Linked DNA regions of Homo sapiens: all the other regions are linked to region 2. The links are contacts of gene promoters, found by promoter capture Hi-C in blood cells and fetal thymus (Javierre and others, 2016). All regions are on one chromosome and are shown on one strand. Each heading gives the region's core, a stretch centred on a gene start or on the middle of the fragment in contact. The rest is flanking DNA. Distances are from core to core; before and after follow the strand shown.

The links. Contacts are between HindIII fragments. The CHiCAGO score rates a contact against its expected background, and 5 or more counts as called.
Region 1: a fragment that was not itself captured here is called in contact with the fragment with the promoter of ESCO1 in region 2 in 1 of 17 cell types (activated CD4 T cells); the score reaches 6.5 in activated CD4 T cells.
Region 3: a fragment that was not itself captured here is called in contact with the fragment with the promoter of ESCO1 in region 2 in 1 of 17 cell types (neutrophils); the score reaches 5.0 in neutrophils.

What each region holds. Positions count from the first base shown.
Region 1 is chr18:21,804,068-21,806,767 of GRCh38, reverse strand. All of the region lies in intron 10 of MIB1 (MIB E3 ubiquitin protein ligase 1), which reads right to left. Among named protein-coding and RNA genes, the nearest start is that of MIR133A1, 20 kb to the left of the region's middle. The HindIII fragment of the contact is 5,677 bases long and covers 1-2,700 here.
Region 2 is chr18:21,599,421-21,602,120 of GRCh38, reverse strand. ESCO1 (establishment of sister chromatid cohesion N-acetyltransferase 1) reads left to right here and starts at 1,417. Exons shown (of 12, transcript NM_052911.3): 1 at 1,417-1,498. RefSeq lists an enhancer at 1,192-1,711. The HindIII fragment of the contact is 1,991 bases long and covers 442-2,432 here.
Region 3 is chr18:21,769,408-21,772,107 of GRCh38, reverse strand. All of the region lies in intron 3 of MIB1 (MIB E3 ubiquitin protein ligase 1), which reads right to left. Among named protein-coding and RNA genes, the nearest start is that of MIB1, 30 kb to the right of the region's middle. The HindIII fragment of the contact is 4,780 bases long and covers 1-2,700 here.

The DNA of each region.
Region 1 (2,700 bases), core at 200-2,699, 200 kb before region 2:
CCTGTAGTCCCAGCTACTCGGGAGGCTGAGGCGGGAGAATGGCGTGAACCCGGGAGGCAGAGCTTGCAGTGAGCCAAGATCGCGCTACTACTACACTCCAGCCTGGGCGACAGAGCAAGACTCCGTCTCAAAAAAAAAAAAACAAAAAACAAAAAACTATTTATAAATATCTAGACTACCAAGACTCACTTCAACTCCCATCATACCATGTTTATAGTATTAACTAACTGTTTGTTTTGTATTTGAGTACAATTAAGAAAAAAAGAGGCTGGGCGCAATGGCTCACACTTGTAATTCCAACACTTTGGGAAGCCAAGGCAGGAGGATCACTTGAGTCCAGGAGTTTGAGACCAAACTGGGCAACATAGTGAGACCATCTCTTTATAAAAATTTTTAAAAATTAGCCAAGCATGATGGCACACACCTGTAGTCCTAGCTACCTGGGAGGCTGAAGTGGGAGAATTGTTTGAGCCTGGGAATTCAAGGCTGCAGTGAGCCATAATCATGCCACTGCACTCCAGTCAGGGCAGAGCAAGACCCTGTATCAAAAAAAAAAAAAAAATCTGGCCAGGCATGGGGCTCATGCCAGTAATCCCAGCATTTCAGGAGGCTGAGGTAAGCGAAATCACTCGAGGTCAGGAGTTAGAGATCAGCCTGGCCAACATGGCGAAACCCCAACTCTACTAAAAATACAAAAATTAGCCCAGCGTAATGGTGCACATCTGTAATCTCAGCTACTCGGGAGGCTGAGGCACAACAATCACTTGAACCGGGAGGCGGAGGTTGCAGTGAGCCAAGAACACTCAACTGCATTCCAGCCTGGGCAACAGGGGGAGACTCTGTCTCAAAAAAAAAAAAAAAAAAAAAGGAAAGAAAGAAAATTACTCTTGAAAAACAGTGCCAATTTCATTCCTAATTCCACAGCCGCAAACCCATTCTGCAAAACCTCTCATGTGAACAAAAATCTCTAGAAACGCAAATATATGAATAATCCCATGCTGCCAGGTTGGTGATTAAATTCTGAATCTGAAAGCAACTTTAAAAAGAAACTTAGGCAAAAAGAAATGTGGTTTTTCAGCTTCTTGCCTTATTAGCTGTAATCAGAAGGACTTTGGTTTTTCAGTAGTTGTTGCTATTGGAGTTTCTGGATTCACTAAATTAAAAATCAGATATTCAACTCAAGAAATTTCATACCATTCCACCAAATAAAACTAAAATAATAAGAAAATAAAGTAATTATATTCTATATACAAAACACTAAAATTAACTTTAATTACCAAAACAAAACTTGTAACACACACTAGGTTCCTAAACTTACAATCAAGAAAGATGCAACTTAAAAATTACTAGTGCAAAAGTAACATCAAATTATATAATCTCATTCATAAAGACATCATAGTAATAAAACTATTGTATAGTTCATAGATATCTAATATGCTAATTTAAAATTCAAGTTCTTAGGCGCGGTGGCTCACACCTGTAATCTCAGCACTTTGGGAGGCTGAGGCAGGCACATCACTTGAGGTCAGGAGCTCGAGACCACCCCGGCCAACATGGCAAAACCCTGTGTCTACTAAAAATACAAAAATTACCCAGGTGTGGTAGCAGGCGCCTATAATCGCAGCTACTGGGGAGGCTGAGGCATGAGAATCACTTGATCCCAGGAGGCAGAGGTTGCAGTGAGCTGAGAACACGCCATTGCACTTCAGCCTGGGCAACAGAGTGAGACTCTGCCTCAAAAATTAATTAATTAATTAATTAATTTCAAGTTATTTCTAGGCAGCAGAAAATTCCAACATTATAGATGACCTGTTTACCCTTAAAAACCACAGGCTCTTTAGTAGCTGTCCAACAATTCAAAATACATACAATTAGAGAAAAAAGAAAAAGTAACATAAGACTAGAAAAGGCTTCTCTTTTCCAATATGCATCTTTTTAAATTTTTTAATTAGTAAAATCAGGTTGATCCACCAATTTAGCCCTCAGCAATTCAAGTCCTCATTAAGCACTCACAGATGAGAGTGTTTTTTAGACAAAATTGCAACATTCTGCCTAATTTAAATTTGCTAGAATTTGATTTATTCTAAATAATCTTGCACTATACTAAAATAAGTGTGATTCAAATACATTTTTAGTAATGAGTAGTTAAGTAAGACAAAGCAAGACATCCTTCACAATAGAGATACAGAGAGATCCCCAGTCAAGACTCCAATGATATTAAGAAGTGTTTCTCTTTTATAAGAATATATTCTAAATTAAATGAAGCATATATACACACATATGGTGATAAACATGCATTATGAACTCTTCAAATATTCACATTAAGGTCAAGAAACAATAAAACTTAAAAAATGCTAATTCAGTTATGACAAAACAACAACAAAAAAAGTTTCCAACTGTCACAGAGATCAGGAAAGATTCTGACCCAGTGGATTTATATTCCTCGTCCTTCAATTTCCCTAGTATGATTCTTGATTCTTGGACAAGCCCACCTTTAGCTCCTAAAACATGATGGTTACACCACAGTAATATGAAACTCAACTCCTATCTTTACCTAGGACTATGGCTAAAATATAAAGGATCACAGAAAGACAAGAACTGTTTCAAGTTGCCTCTGTCAGATTTTTATTTTCAATCAGAAAAGCCTTAGTTGGATACTAAATTTCAAAAATAAAAACAATCCATCTCATGATATAGAAG
Region 2 (2,700 bases), core at 168-2,667:
AAGATGGTGAAACCCCGTCTCTACTAAAAATAAAAAATTAGCCGGGCATGGTGGCAGGCACCTGTAGTCCCAGCTACTCAGGAGGCTGAGGCAGGAGAATTCCTTGAACCTGGGAGGCGGAGGTTGCAGTGAGCCGAGATCGTGCCATTGCACTCTAGCCTGGGTGACAAGAGTGAGACTCCATCTCAAAAAAAAAAAAAAAAATTAGCCTGGCATGGTGTCGTGGGCTTCATACATGCAGTTCTCAGGGAGGCTGAGGCAGGTGGGATCGCTTGAGCCCAAGTCGAGGCTGCAGTGAGCCGTTACTGTGCCACTGCACACCAGCCAGGGCTACACAGCAAGATCCTTCCTGTCACAAAAGAAAGAAGTGTGGGAACCATGAATCCTAGTGATAGAATCTTGGATTCTATCTCTAGAGGCGTCCAAGAGCGAGCCAAAGCTTTGTCTGAACACTCAGTCTGACTAAGTCTAGCAGAATATTTTACAATTTCTGATGATTCTTGCACTCTGATACACAGGAAGAAAGTGTGCAAGGAGAGGGCGAAGCCCTGCATTTTTTGGAGGTGCTGGAGGGCAGTGTAGGGACTGCACCCTCCTTTTTTTTTTATTTGAGACAGGGTCTCACTCGTCCAGACTAGAGTGCAGTGGCCCAGTCTCAGCTCACCACAACCTCCGCCTCCCAGGCTCAAGGGATTCTCCCGCCTCAGCCTCTCGAGTAGCTGGGATTACAGTCGCACGCCACTACCACCCGGCTAATTTTTGTATTTCTAGTAGAGACGGGGTTTCACCATGTTGGCCATGTTGGCCAGGCTGGTCTCGAACTCCTAACCTCAAATGATCCACCCGCCTCTGCTTCCCAAAGTGCTGGGATTACAGGCGTGAACCACCGCGCCCGGCCCCACCCTCCTTCTTTACATTGGCTCATATGGAAGACCAAAGGCACTTGGATTATACATCGCAGACAGAAGCAGCCAAAACCTACATGGCAACCAGTTGCGACAAATTTCCAAGGTAAACCACAACCGCTGGGGGCCTGGGTGGTTTTCAGCTCAAAGCGATGACCCCAGGAACGACAAGCGGCCGCCGCTAGGGGGCGCCGCCACTTCCCTGCCAGGCGACCACCCGCGGAGGCGCGCGCGCTAGGCCTCCCACCGCGCCTGCGCTGAGGATGGACACTAGCTCGCCTTTCCTCGACGCCCAGCCGTCCGGGCCGGGGTGAAAAACTGCGTGACACGCAGTGAGCGTGGCGGCCATCTTCGTCTTCTGGGCACGTCAGCTGAGCCGGTTAGGGCTGAAGAGGAGCGTTGCGCAAGCGCACCCAAGACGGTCACAGGTAACTCCCATCTGACGAGCGAGGCGTCGCCGTCGTCGCCGGAAGTTTGGTGTTTGCGCCGCGGGGGAGGCGGCGGCCGCAGCAGAAGCAGCTGAGTGTCTCCTGATACCCGGATGTGAGGCGATCCGCTGGCGCTAGTCTGACCCTCCGCCAGGCAAAAGGAAGGTACGCGAGCGTCCCTGACGGTCCCCGCCGCCTGTGTCTTCACCTCTCTTTTGCCAGCCCCTTCAGGGAGCGGACAGTTCTCCCTCTTCCTGTTCCACCCTCGGTGGCGTGTTGCCTCGCACGCCCCTTCCTACTGCTCCGGTCCCAGCTCTTCGCGCCCCTGGGAGGGAGGTGGGAGGCTCTAGGCTCCAAGACGCCGTCGCTTGAGGTAGGCAGCTAACGTGCTCGCGTGTCCGCGCACCACCTGCCGCTGTTTGCTGGGCGGTCGAAGTTCATAAGGGGTCGTGACCGCCGACGGGGCAGGGCCGGAGTTCCCAGCACTGCCGCGAGGGCTCCGGGAGCCCCGAGGTGGCGCGCAGCCATTGCTAGCACCGGGGCAGCGCCAGTGCTGGTCCCGCAGGTAGCTCCGGGCCCCGTCTCCGCCCCCTGCGTTTTCTCTTCCCGGCGCTTCACCGGAGCCAGTCCCTCGCCGCCTCCTGGCGCAACCCGCTGACCCGGCCTGAGCCTGGAGGCCTCTGCAGTTTGCGGGGCGCGATGTGGGGTCTTGGTTTTACAGCCTTCAGTTTGGGAGGGGAGCGGGCCCAAGGTCATAGAGTAACTCATGCTGCAAATGGGGGTCTCGGCACAGGTAGGGCGGCTCTGGAGTAGAAATGAGTGCATTGAGGGCCGCAGTGAAGTTTATAGCGATGGAGAGAGGCGAACCAAAGAGAATTGGGTCCTCGATTTTTATCACGGGTTAAGATTATTTTACTATGGGGGTTTATTTTGCACAGGCAGAATGGGATAGCAAGTCCAACAATTCGAAGACTACCTCCTCTCCCTCCGCCTCTCAATGATGCGTCCGAAAATCCGGCGTGTGCTTTATTTTCCGGGGCGATGGGGACGCAGCGGGGACCAGGGGAGGGAGGAAGAGGAGGAGGAAGGAGCTCAAGCTTTGCGATTTGAGAAGTACTATGAACCATGTTTTCTGTAGTCTTAGCTGCAATGAGATTCCTTTAAACAGGAATCGCAGCACACAGTATCTAGATAGTATTACAAAACGATATCTCAATAAATAAGCTTCGCAGGAAACAAAAGCGCTACTTGGTGGCATAAGGTGTGGTTAGTCCCCCCACCAGCATTGGCTTTTTTAAAAAAGTGGATAAAACATAGATTTCAGTTGAAAACATCCAGGTTGCAGTGAACTATGCTATATTCACTTT
Region 3 (2,700 bases), core at 71-2,570, 170 kb before region 2:
AAGATCTAATGAATCACTTGAAACATATTTTAAATTGTTAGTAATTTAGTCCATTTACTCTTTTAAATTTTGAAATACATTACACATTATAAAATACAGCATATGTAAATTTTTTTTTTTGCTCTTGTCACCCAGGCTGGAGTGCAATGGCACGATCTCGGCTCACTGCAACCTCCGCCTCCCCGGTTCAAGTGGTTCTCCTGCCTCAGCCTCCCAAGTAGCTGGGATTACAGGTGCCCACCACCATGCCCGGCTAATTTTCGTTTTTTTTTTTAAGTAGAGATGGGGTTTCGCCATGTTGGCCAGGCTGGTCTCAAACTCCTGATCTTGTGATCTGCCTACCTCAGCCTCCCAAAGCATATGTAAACTTTAAGGAATAAAAAAATAAACTGAACACCCATGTAATTATTACCCAACCTAAGAAAAAAAATAGAACCAGTACTTTTCAAGTCCCCTATGTCCATCTCATCAATCCCATCCTCCTGCCTTCCATTAGAGGTAACTACCATCCTGAAGTTAAGAGTCCACCATTTACCTTAATTTGCTTTATGATTCCTGCTCAACTAACCACTACATAACCTTCTAAAGTAACAGTTTCTAGCACTCGAAGGTAAAACATGCAATCTGTAGCAAAAAGTTCCTTCTGATTCTAATATATTCAGATTCAACTTCATTTGTTTTAAAAAATGTGATGCTATATTAAGTCTGTATTTTATAGGATGAGTAAAAAAGCATTTGGCTAGCTAAAAAACAAAGACAAATTTTAAATCAAATTTACTTTAAATTTCAAATTACTTGAAATAGAAGTAAGTTCATTAGTCAAGCTCCAAATCATTAAATGAAATTCCTTCATTTGTTAATATGACTTGATTTATTATTGAGGAGGAAACAAAGTGGAGGGCATAAGAAAATAACTACAGTAATTTCACATGTAAGGAACAGCTGTTAAAACCATTAGGTATAATGTTGCCAAGAAACTCTGTAAAGGATACATCTGACAAAATTTGCACCTGTTCATCAATCTTAACATCACTAATAGCAGAATAATCAGACTTTATGTGCCCCTTTATATGATACAATAGAAAATACACAGCATCACATATGAGGTATGTTTGCCAAAATAAAATTGAACCTGAATCTATCTAATCAAGCCTCTAGATCTAACAACTAATTTATAGGAAATACAAAGATTAAAAGAACAAGTTAAAGAAGTTAAAGAATACTATAAAGAATCAATTGGCCAAATAGAATCTGGTTTCTTCAACAAATAAATGGTATTTTTTTAAGTTAATAATTGTTGAAGTTGGGTATGAGTGCATGGGAATTTATTATACTATACTTTCTACTCAAGTGTATGTCTGAAATACTCCATAATAAAGAGCTTAACAAAAAAACAAATATGATCTAGTATACTTAATCATATTTGTAAAACAAACAGCTTTAAAAGACTAACACGTATAGTGAGACTTAAAAAGCCCTTTAAGAATAGGCTGGGCGCGGTGGCTCATGCCTGTAATCCCAGCACTTTGGGAGGTGGAGGCAGGAGGATCGCTTGAACCCAGGAGTTCGAGACCAGCCTGGGCAACACAGCAAGACTCCATCTCTAATATATATTAGAAAAACAAAAAGGAAGAATACACTACATACAATTAACGTGGGTTACATCAGGGGAGTGGGATAAAGCATCCAGCACTGAAGGGGAAAAAGGGATGTTAACTTTCTTCATTCACATACATAGGCCAAAACAAAAAAGTCAGACAACAGAAGTTACACTTGGTCTTAAACAATGTGCTTAACAATGTTACTCTAAAGATTTATTTTATAAAGTTCCCTCACTTGGAGTCACATGTACAAGATGGTTTCATTTCTTTTTCTTCATTTTGTTCTTTTCGTTTGTCTGTTTTGAGATGGAGTCTCACTCTGTCACCCAGGGTGGAGTGCAGTGGCACAATCTTGGCTCACTGCTACCTCTGCCTCCCAGGTTCAAGTGATTCTCCTGCCTCAGCCTCCCTGGTAGCTGGGACTATAGGCATGTACCACCATGCCTGGCTAATTTTTGTATTTTTAGTGGAGACAGGGTCTCACCATGTTGGCCAGGTTAGTCTCAAACTCCTGACCTCAAATGATCCACCCGCCTCAGCCTCCCAAAGTGCTGGGATTACAGGCGTGAGCCACCATGCCTGGCCCTCATTTTGTTCTTAAAACACAACATGTGTTAAATCAAAGCAAACCAAAAATGTAACAGAATGACTCAAAGCCTCAAGAATGCCTTCTTTTATCCCAAAAAAGTGCCAATACAGAAAAAACCAGGAAGTTCCATTTATGTGGCTTCAAACAGCAAATGCCTTCAAAAGCTGATGAGGAAAGATGACTTCCAGCCCCCTCTGACCATATAATTAACTATGAGGAAAAATACACAGTCAATTAAAATTTGACTTCTCACATACTCTTTCAAAAGAAGTTACTAGAATGTGTGTCCTACCAAAAGAGACAGTAAGCTAAGTAAGATATCTAATGGGATACAGAAAACATGAGATCCAGCCAGGAAAAGAGGCAAAGGCATCTTTGTTAATCACAGGGCTTCAAAGGGCGCTTCCAGGATGACTGCTGGGCACCAGGCATGGAAGGTGACCCATCCAGATTGCAGCCGTGTAATATGTGGTGGCCAAACAAGTTGAAAGCTCTTATCCCTACTTCCAC